Regions from separate parts of the Homo sapiens genome. Here region 1 is linked to region 2. Evidence: promoter capture Hi-C in 16 types of primary human blood cells and fetal thymus (Javierre and others, 2016). All regions are on one chromosome and are shown on one strand. Each heading gives the region's core, a stretch centred on a gene start or on the middle of the fragment in contact. The rest is flanking DNA. Distances are from core to core; before and after follow the strand shown. Region 1 has its middle 72 kb from the start of DYNAP. Region 2 holds the start of DYNAP (dynactin associated protein).

Region 1 (5,581 bases), core at 237-2,736, 71 kb after region 2:
CTTGTTGAAGAATGTCACTGGGGCACACTAACTGGCTGCTGTTCTACACCTGGGCGGCATCTGACTCAGCCACATCTTATTAATAATGTTATTGCCATTTCTTGTGAAGGAATGCCTCTTCCAGAGCATACCACACTGATCATATCTAATCCTCCTAATGTCTTCCTGAATTAAATGTCATTACCCCATTTTTCTGATGAAATACCAAAGCATTTAGTGATATTTTATGAGTTCTAAGGTAAGTTTGTGGCTCCCCATTCATTTACCCAAGAAGTAGTTATTAAACTCCTAGCACATTCACTGTGTCACATTAGATGCTGAGAAAAAAAAAAAAAATTGGGAAATGGGGGAAATGAAGATATATTTAGAATCTTAATCTCTTATGGATAGGAAAAAGATCAGAAAGCAACCAGAGACTCTGCCAACACATCTCAATATATTAAGACAATATGATTGTTTATTGACAGCAAGAAAGGGGTGGTGGTAATGCCCAAAAACTTGCCTGCCCACTAGCAAGAGGCTGCTGGAACTCAGACCTAAATTACATCACAGGCTGAAAATTCTCAGGGAGAAGGCAAAGTTTATTATTTTTGCAGACTCGGAACCTCTGCCCAGGGTTCAAGCAAATGATCAGCATGAGAGAAACCAACCAAAAATATCAAGGCCTTCTACAGGTGCAATTCAATTAGACAATCCTCAGGAGTCCAGGCATTCATTGACATCTACGTCACAGTCTGCCTATAGGGAGTAGGGCTCTAGCATCAGAATAGATGAGCCTCCAGCCTATAGGAACGGAAACTGGAAAAGGACAAAACAAGGCTTCCAGCCCTGTTGGAGAATGGAGGAGAACAAAGTGATTACTAAAATAGGACTCAAAGGGAAACCCAGGAAAAAGTCAGGTATAAAAACTGAGTCACACAGACAGGGCTTAGGCTTGTAACCTCTGGTATCATAATTTGATTATCAGATCTGAGGCACCATGGAATTTGGGTTGAGTCCTGATCCTGAGACCAGAATGAAAATACTAGTCATTCGTGTTGTTTGTCAAATGTTCTAGCTCTCCCTTTTCCAACACGTGATAAGGTTGCACTTTCTAGCCTTCTGTGTTTCTTCTCAGTCTCCTTGAATTCAGGTTTCTTTTGGCTACAGTTGTAAGTAAAAAATGTATTTATCACTTTGAAGCCAGAGATTTAAAACTGATGCATGTCATAAGCCATGATAGAAGACAATGTTCTACAAAAAGGCCAGGTTCCATTAGCCCAAGTTTCAGAATGAGGACAATGATAAATGAACAGAGCCCATAAGTGACCAGTAATGGGCAGATAGTGTGAGCAAGAAATAAACCTTTGTTCTTATAAATCATTGCAATACACAAGCTGTTTGTTATTGCAGCAAAACGTAGCCTGTCCAGACTAATACAGAGATCTAAGGACTCACCAGTGGGACATTATACTTCATCAGCTCACAGCTGCAACATAGGTATCAGGGCCACAGTAGATGGAGGAAGATCCTGGCACCTGATTGTTCAAAATTGAAGGTTTAACTATCTGGTCAGTGAAATCTGTCTCAGTCATGGTGGGTTGGGAATTTAGGCAGGACAGAAGCCATTGTGGGGTGCTGGAGTAGACCCTGGAAGGAGGAATATGGTGAGTATGACAGTTAAGTCATTCAGTATGTTCAGAGAGCAAAGGCAGTGACTGATGTAGAATAAAGCCAGTTGCTGATGGCTTCTTGGAAGGCGTGAATCTTGAGCCAGATCATAAAGGATATTAGAGGTTGGCAAAAAGAGCAAAAGTAGGTGTTGTAAAAGAAGAGAGTCTTTAAGAGGAAGTAGAATGGGCAAAAATAATGAATGTTGCTGAGAAAGATGCTAGCAAATACCTTGGTTGTAGAGAAGAACTACAGACAGGAGACTTCCTACTAATTGCAAGCCCTGTGCTAATGAATCTCATAAATCTCTTCCTCTGGTAAGGACAGGAGTCTCATTGCTGGCCTTCTCCATCAACTCTCCTCCAAGAATGCAGAGTGATTCTTAAATGCCATCCCATGATGCCATGCCATACTCAACACTCTGATGGATTCTTACTGCATTCAGATAAAAGTCCCAAATCTTTAACAAGGCAAAAAAGGCCCTGCAAAATCTAGCTCCATCTACCTCCTTAGCTGGCTCTGCTCTCCCCTTCAGACACATTCTTCTTTTTCATGAATTCAACAGAAGCCTGACTCAAGGTCTTCTGCTTGTGATATCTTCCCTCCACCCCTGACCAACTTCCCCAGGCTCATGCCTATTCATCTAGGCAAAATAATGACCTTCCCAAAAATGTTCACAGACTTAATCCTCACAGATAGGTTATATGACAAAGGGGAATTAAGATTAAAGGTGGAATTAAGGTTGCTAATTAGTTGACTTTAAAATAGGAAGATTATCCTGGATTATCCAAATGAGACCAATGTAATCAAAGGGTCATAAAAAGTGGAAGAGGTAGACAGAGTGAGCCTCAGAAAGAGATATGACTAAAATGATCAGAGATACACAATTTTGAGGGCTTTGAAGATAGAATAAATGGACCATGAACCAAGGAATGTAGGTAGACTCCAAAAGCTGGAAAAAAGCAAGAAAACAGGTTCTGGAGGCTCAGGGGCTCCAGAAAGAACTCAGCCCTGCCAATACCTTAACTTTATCCCAGTGAAATCCATGCTGGACTTCTAACCGTCAGAACTGCAAGATAATTAATCTGTGTTGTTTTAAGTCACTAAGTTTGTAGTATTTGCTATAGCAGCCAAAGAAACCTAATATATCATCTTCCAGGTCTCAGTGTGAATCTCACTCTCCAATTTAAATTCATTCTTCTACTTTCACAACCTCTCCAGTACTGTGTTCCTTCTTGGGACTTAGCACAGTTGGTCCTTAAACATTAATTTTGTGATCTGTTTAATATCTGTCATGCCTCTTGAATCCAAACTATCACATGGATGGGGACTGTGCAGTTTTCATCATCATTATATCTCCAACACTGGCATATGGTGGACCTTCAATGAGTATTCACTGAATAAACATAAAATAATTCTACACACCTGCAATGTATTTAACAAGTTTAAAAAATCGAAGTTCAGGAAGGTGTAGGTTGCAGATTTGGAATTCGGACATCAGTCAATCTCATATTAGACCCAGGTCTTCCCTCTAGGCCTGTGGCTGGGTCATTCATTATCCTTTTCTTAGCCGAACCTTTAGGAGTAATTATTGCTAACAGTTATTCCCTCTCAGTGAATAATTCTGTCATTAATAGCTTGTGCCTTAAAGCCACTAGAAGTTCTGCAGCTCACACTCAACATCTTTCAGATTTTACTGAGACCCACTGGCTACCACATCCATACCTGTCCCCAAACTGATCCACTTGAAACCCCAATGCTTATTCATAAAATAAAAAATAAAATAGAGGACAATAGAGAATGTTAGCCTTCTTTAATTTTGACCTTGAAATAAAGAGATGCATGTCAGGGGTTCTTCATAATTTATATTTTTTAATTAAGTGTACTGAATAAGAGTCAATCAACCAGACAACAATCAGGCAGTGTCCCTCTCTTACTGGCTTTGCCATGACCTTTCATCATGGCACACCCATGCACACATTCATTTGTGCATGTACTCAATAAGTGTTTGCTGAGCCTTTTTCTATGTCAGGCCTGTGTTAAGCCCTTCATAAGCTTTATTTTTTTTTTTCATTTAATCTCTGCAATTGCATTTACAAGCAGGTAATATTAGTGTTCCCATTTCACACCTAAGGAAACTGAGCTTCTCAGGTGTCAGAACTTGCCCAAGGTCACACAGGCAGTGAGTAATTGAGTTCCAGTTTTCCTCCTAGCAAACTTCTACTTTTCTTTCAAAACCCAGCTTCAACATACATCACTGCTTAATCGTAGCTTTTGCATGTGGCCTTGGGAAGCGCTTCCCCTGTCTTTTGTCCCCACTTCCCTCAGTCTTGCAAGTAAATGGCTCTTAGATCACTGATTTGTGATTACCTATATTTACTTCTATCTTTCTAAAATTTGAGCTCCTCGTGGTATGAAATGACAGAAAATTAATTTTTTCCACCATTATCTCTTAGCTAAAAAAATTAGTAAACTAATTAAAGGTGAAGAAAAACTCTTGACATCCATAAGGGGCCAGGAAGTGTAACTGAGGACTTTTTTTCTTTTTTTCTCTCCCATTTTTGGTAAGAATGATTCAGCCTTAAATAATATCTGAAAACTCATACAATTAAAATTAGGGAGAAAACAAAAGTGTTCCTCACCTAGCACAGTGTGAAATGACCTCAGGTCATACCTTCCCTTCTCCTCCGAGAGTCACACGAGCCACACGCCATGCAGCCATGCACGTCCTAGCTCACCCAAAGCCTACGCTGCCCTCAGGCTTCCCAGGCCCCAGAAAGGCCTCTGTCTCAGAGGGTGGAGCTGCTCACTTTTTCCAGGTAAGTGGACTCACCATAAAATTCTGGTTAGCCACACAAAAAGAGCCTGCTCTAGGGATTAAGGGAGGAACTGAGGAGAAAATTACCACAGGTTTGGGTGTTCAGGCTGTGGGTCCTAGAAACAAGACTCAGTCTCTTAGGGGCATCCAGGCTCTGTATCCAAAATGGTAGCCACAAAGCCCATCCCCTAACCCATGATGCTTAGAAACTGACATCTTTCCATAATAGAAGTTGTCCAGCACCAATTATTAAGTAGGAAAAAGAGGCATTTGTATTGCAAACCTAGAAATAAAAGAGTCATTTATTCACATTTATTTCACAAACACCTAAATAGTACTTACTAAGTTCCACCATCCCTAATTCTGCTGGGGCTGAGTAGTGATTTAGGAAGCAGTACCTGAATAAGGAGGAAGTGACTTCCAAAGACCACAGCCTCATACAATGAGGTAGATTTCCTAATCCCATGATCACTGAGGCTAAGGGAGCCAGACTGCCCCTTCCTCATGTGGTTTCATCTCTCTTGGTCTGTGTGATGTTTTTCCCCTTCAAACATATACATTATCATTTAAACTTGCACCCAATCATGTAAATATGCTGGGGAACAGGTAATTTACTCAAGAAGAAACCCCAGAAGTTAACAAGCATAAGAAGAGATATCCAAAACCATGAGTAATCAGAGAAAAAAGCAAATTAAAACACCAAGGCAGCACTTTACACCAGAATCCCTACCTTGGCTGTGCATTAGAATCAATCACCTGGAAAGATTTTTTAAAACCTAACACCCAGGCCCTACCCTGAGAAATTTAAATCTAAATATTCTGGGTGGGGCTTGGGCATTGGTTTTATTTAAAAGTTCCTGGGGTGTTTTCACAAGGTATTGCGTAGCTAGAATTCAAGGCCTATTGCACTGGCAAAAAATGCAAAGCTGAATAAATGCTGGGCAGGGTGGCAGCAATTCTAGAATCTGGCATTACAGGTCCTTGGTAAAATTAAGGCCACACATATCTATGACCCAGCAATTCTGCTCCTAGGTGTATGTATGTATACACACACACACGCACACACGCACATAAATTATATATATAACTTTATACATGCACGCATTATATATA
Region 2 (4,942 bases), core at 2,129-4,628:
TGGTGAGCTGAAGTCCTTGCATCTTATTGGGTACAACCTGTTCAGGTCATTTTGGAAATGAAAATATTGAAGTGAAAAGAGTTGAAATGATTTGTCATCATGACACAACAGCTAGCACAGGAGCTCAGACCTTCCAGTGTTAAGGCCCATGTACTCCACTACACTATACTAGGAATAGTATATTCTTATGCTATGCCATACTATGCTAATACAGTAATGTAGTATATACTATACTACATGATACTAGTGAAAAATTCTTACACAAAGTGACTGCTTTACATAATTCATACCATGCTCTATCCAATGGAACTTGCAAGCCTATGGCAGTGACACAGAAGACAAATCATTTGTCGAATTTGCAGTATGTTTTTGCTGGGTTCCTCTTGGGCATAGAGCAATGTAAAAACAGTCCACAACAATACAGGTCTCCACTCTCAAGGAGTCTATTTGCTAACAGGGAGGCAAAACAGGTTAGTGTCTAATTAACAAATAAATGCAATAATTGTAAATTATTCAGAAAAAGAGGTAAATAAGGATTGAAAACAACTGAGTTGGCAGGGAAAGACTTTAGGGAAGGGGTGTGTTAAAAGAGGGGAAGGATAAGATAAAGTGAACATGAGAAAGGAGTAGATTCAGGAATTTATGGATCTTGTGGAAAAGTTTTTTGTTTTGTTCTGTTTTGTTTTGTTGAGATGGGATCTCTCTCTGTAACCCAGGCTGTAGTGAAGAGACACAGTCATGGTTCACTGAAACCTCGACCTCCCAAGGCTCAAGCAGTCCTCTCATCTCAGCCTTCTGAGTAGCCAATGACTATAGGCATATGCCTTCATGCTCATCTAATTATTTTTGATGTTATTTTTCATAGCGATGGGGTCTCCATATGTTGCTCAGGATGGTCTAGATCTCCTGGGCTCAAGCACTCCTCTGGCTCTGCCCTCCCAAGGTGCTGGCATTGTAAGTATGAGCTTCTGTACCCAGCCAAAAGTTTTGTTACATATCAAACATAATGTAGAATGATCTAAGGCTCTTCATCTCACAGGATGATAACGTTTACTTTCTAGCTGTGAATCAAGGTTATCTTTGGCCACTCCTATCAGCTTCAAAAGGAGAATACTAAAATTACCCACTTACAGATTTGCTCATATGATCACTGAGTAAATAACTGCCAAATGCTTGTAGCAATGTCTGGCACATAATACCCACTGAATATGTGTTAACTATCATTCTTGTTATTAGTAATAGTATTTTAATTACTACCGCTACTGCCACTAGTTGTCTTTGTGTTGATTTAATAACCCATTACTAATAGTTATAGAAATTACTGGCCAACCAACCAGTGAGTTCCATGAAAACTGTCAAACCAGAATGATACATAATCATTGACCCATTAGGAATTATTATTAAAAATACAAAAATATAAAATTGTCATTAAATATAGTTAAGATGGGATACTCCTGGCAGTGGACAATTAGCTAAGTTAATTTTTTCTGTAAATATAATATAAAAGAAATAGATATCAGTCCCATGTTTATCAAATATGAATAAACAAAATTCTACCTACTATTCATTATGCAAATTTGAATAAGTTGAATTTATCTTTGTTAATACCCTTGCTTATTTAACTAGGTGCTGATCCTGTTGTTTTCATTACATCCAATTTGCTTGTGGCTGATGAACCTGAACATTTTAATGCCTTTGCAAACAAAGTGAAACTCACTCAGTGGGGCAGTTTCCCAGAATTTTCTGGCCCTGTTAGAATCCCAGCCCTTTCAGAGAGGAAGGTGATGGGTGGGTCTACACTAAGGATGGGGAACCTGTGATCTAGGCCCAGTTTGCAGCCTAAGTAATAATTTTACTGTGTCAGGTTGCTCTGACTCTTACTACAGGTGGAGTCTCTATTCAAAACTGGAAGAGTTGAAGAGCTGTAAATAATGTTAACCAGCATTAGCATAATCAGCATTAGCTAATAATGGCCACAGGCAACTGAAATGCATTGGTTGTACTTAACTAAAGTACATTCGGTAAGTTTTTTACCCAAACTTTATAAGGATTAACTTGAGATTTCTTAGATCCCTAACAGAAAAACAAGGACACCAAAATTTATTTTCTGTGTGTTTATAATCTTCAAATACTTTTTAAATTCCATTATTGAATTTGGTTTGAAGAGAAAAATATAGTTATATCTATGCCTGAATAATATAATAAAGTAAAATATTTAGTCAGCTATCCAGATATATGCTGTAAAAAAAAACAATATAAGCTAATATTTGTAAACATCTTTACATTTGTTATTATCTAGAAAAACTATCAAGATGATACATACCTGACCAAGGATAATTTTTTTTTCCATCTGAGTATCTGAACATCTTGAAGATCCAATTACAGTGCTGCCTGAGCAACTGACCAAGCAGACTTCCAGACACCAGCCCAGGGAGTGAAGATCTTGGTTCTTTTGGTGAACCAGAAATCCTCTATAGGATTCTTGTATTAACACTTACTGAGAAACAGGACTTTCTTCTTTGGTTTATCTCATGAGTTACACAGGCTGATTACCACAGCTCCATATGACAAAAGCAAGCTATTTCTTCACACATGTTTCATTCATTCTGCTGGCAGTGAATTTTAACTCACTATTTTAATTCTCATTACATGTCCTTCCTTTTCTGAAGTCAAAGATTATTTGGTTGGATATAAATAGATACATAAAATCTGTATATGATACAGATATATGATTATGATAACTATACACTGAAGGCTTGGTTTTTGGTATAAAAATATTTTTTAAAAAGCAGACAAAATAGTCATATTTTGACACAGAGCAGGTATTTTTGGAAGTTTTCTTTCTTAGGAATATTAATATCTAGAATTAATATCTGGTTTTTCAGCATATTAAGAAATCTGAGTTCTGACAGGTCTAAAAATTCTAAGCATCCAATTGTAAAAACAGAACTTAATAAATAAACACTGACATCATTGGAGTTTATGTTTACATGAAGGTGAATATAGAAAGTTAAATGGATCTATTTGTATATCCTATGGCCATAGAAACATTTCTAATACTTTATAGCTATATATATTTAAATTAATACCTAAATATATAACATAGCAAAATAAAACATGAAAGTTACAGCACAAAAATTGATACAGGGTTGCTCTTTATTTTGGAGAAGAATGCAAAATTATGATGTTGGCTAGATAGTAATAAAGAGATTAAACTGCTTTTAAATGCTGAAAATGAAACTGTAATATAGGCAAACTATCAAAATGGAGCAAGGACACTCACCGGCTGGTTTTCAGAGTGCTCAACGTTCAATATGTATTTTCCATGCTTTCTGTCCATTCTTGAGCTGCCAGTATCACAAGCTTCTCTCCAAGAATATTTTTCAATTTGTTCATTGCCCTTTATATCTGCAACCATGAAACAATTAAAACACTGGTGGAAGTCAACTATGATGCATCAGTACAAGTGTGGATTAAACTAAATACTAATTATTCACTAAAACAGGATCCACCTTAGAGGAGGAAATGAAATGTTAACTGCAGAAAGACGCAAGAAAACCAGTACTTCCTCTGAAAGCTTTTGTGACTACTCCCTCTGAAAACCTTACATTATTGTTCCGTCTCTCCTCTTTAGTCCCATCATTCAGGAACTCACCTTTTATTTTAGGACCGACCCCAGAAAAACGTTCTGAGATAGAAATGTATCATTGCTTGCTTTCTACTCAAGCACAAAAGCCTCTCTCCCCTTGTTGGCACCACCTCTTAGGTACCCATGACCTTAGGGACACTTCACCTTTTCAGTCCCTGGGTTGGTGTCTGGAAGTCTCTTTGGTCAGTTGCTCAAGCAATTCACACTCATTAAAAACTATTAGAATCAATTTCCTAGGCAATAATGTCAAAGGAGTGATGGAATATTGAAAATCTTTAAGAAGAGGGTTTTTTTATTTTGGTCAAAAAATCTAGTTTGTCTTAAATTGTAAAATGATCAATTCTTGTATTGGTTTATTCACTCAACAAGTGAGAATACTGTTTCAAAAGTGTGCCAGGTATGTTTGTAGTGCAGAAAGTTCCATAATAAAAAAAAATTCCTATTCTCTTTGTATATGACACTTTTGGATTCTGAATATTTTTAAAGTTTAATCTTTGAAATTTCTCTTATAAATGTATTCAATACCTTCAGCTTGTAAGTTTTACCCTCAAGCTGTAGAATATAAAGAACATGGAAAGCTGTCAAGGAATTGAAAAACTGGGAAAAAAAATTGTTCTAAAGAGGAGTTTAAAATACGATGATTTGCTACAACACAGATGAACCTTGAGGACATTGTGCTAATTGAAATAAGTCATCACAAAAAAGACAAATACTGTAAATTTCACTTATATAACATACCTAGAATAGTCAAAATCATAGAGACAGAAAGTAGAATGTTGGTTGCCAGGGGCTGGGAGGAGGCGGAAATGGGGAGTTATTGTTTAATGAATACACAATTTCAGTTTGGGATGATAAAAAGAGATCTGGAAATGGGTGGCAGTGATGGTTGCAGAATATTGTGAATGTATTTAATACTCTTAACTGTATACTTAAAATGATTAAGATAATGAACTTTGTGTTATATGTATTTTACCACAATTTAAAAAGTGAAACACAAAGAAAAACATAAAGATTTACTCTTCTTGAAGCAAAGCAAACAGCCATGGGGTACAAGGGACCAACATGGGTTGAAGGTGTCAATAATATTAAAAATGACTTTTGAAAGACTTTTTGATTGATTTTTTGATTCATTTGAAAATCAGAAGAATATAATTAAACCAATAATATATATTAATTGTATATTTTTAAAATATTACTACAATTTTATTCTGCAAAAACATTTCATTTGGCAGTAGAGCCACATAGCCACAGTGGAAGTGAAACTCCATTACTATTGATGGCATCCACACATTA

The links. The method cuts DNA at HindIII sites, captures the fragments that hold promoters and counts their contacts. A CHiCAGO score of 5 or more calls a contact.
Region 1: a contact is called between a fragment that was not itself captured here and the fragment with the promoter of DYNAP in region 2, in 3 of 17 cell types (endothelial precursors, neutrophils and total B cells). The highest score is 5.9, in endothelial precursors.

Annotation. Positions count from the first base shown.
Region 1 is chr18:54,516,527-54,522,107 of GRCh38, reverse strand. No RefSeq gene overlaps it. Among named protein-coding and RNA genes, the nearest start is that of DYNAP, 72 kb to the left of the region's middle. The HindIII fragment of the contact is 4,443 bases long and covers 1-3,707 here.
Region 2 is chr18:54,589,681-54,594,622 of GRCh38, reverse strand. DYNAP (dynactin associated protein) reads right to left here and starts at 3,378. Exons shown (of 3, transcript NM_173629.3): 1 at 3,284-3,378. The coding sequence starts at 3,340. The HindIII fragment of the contact is 214 bases long and covers 3,366-3,579 here.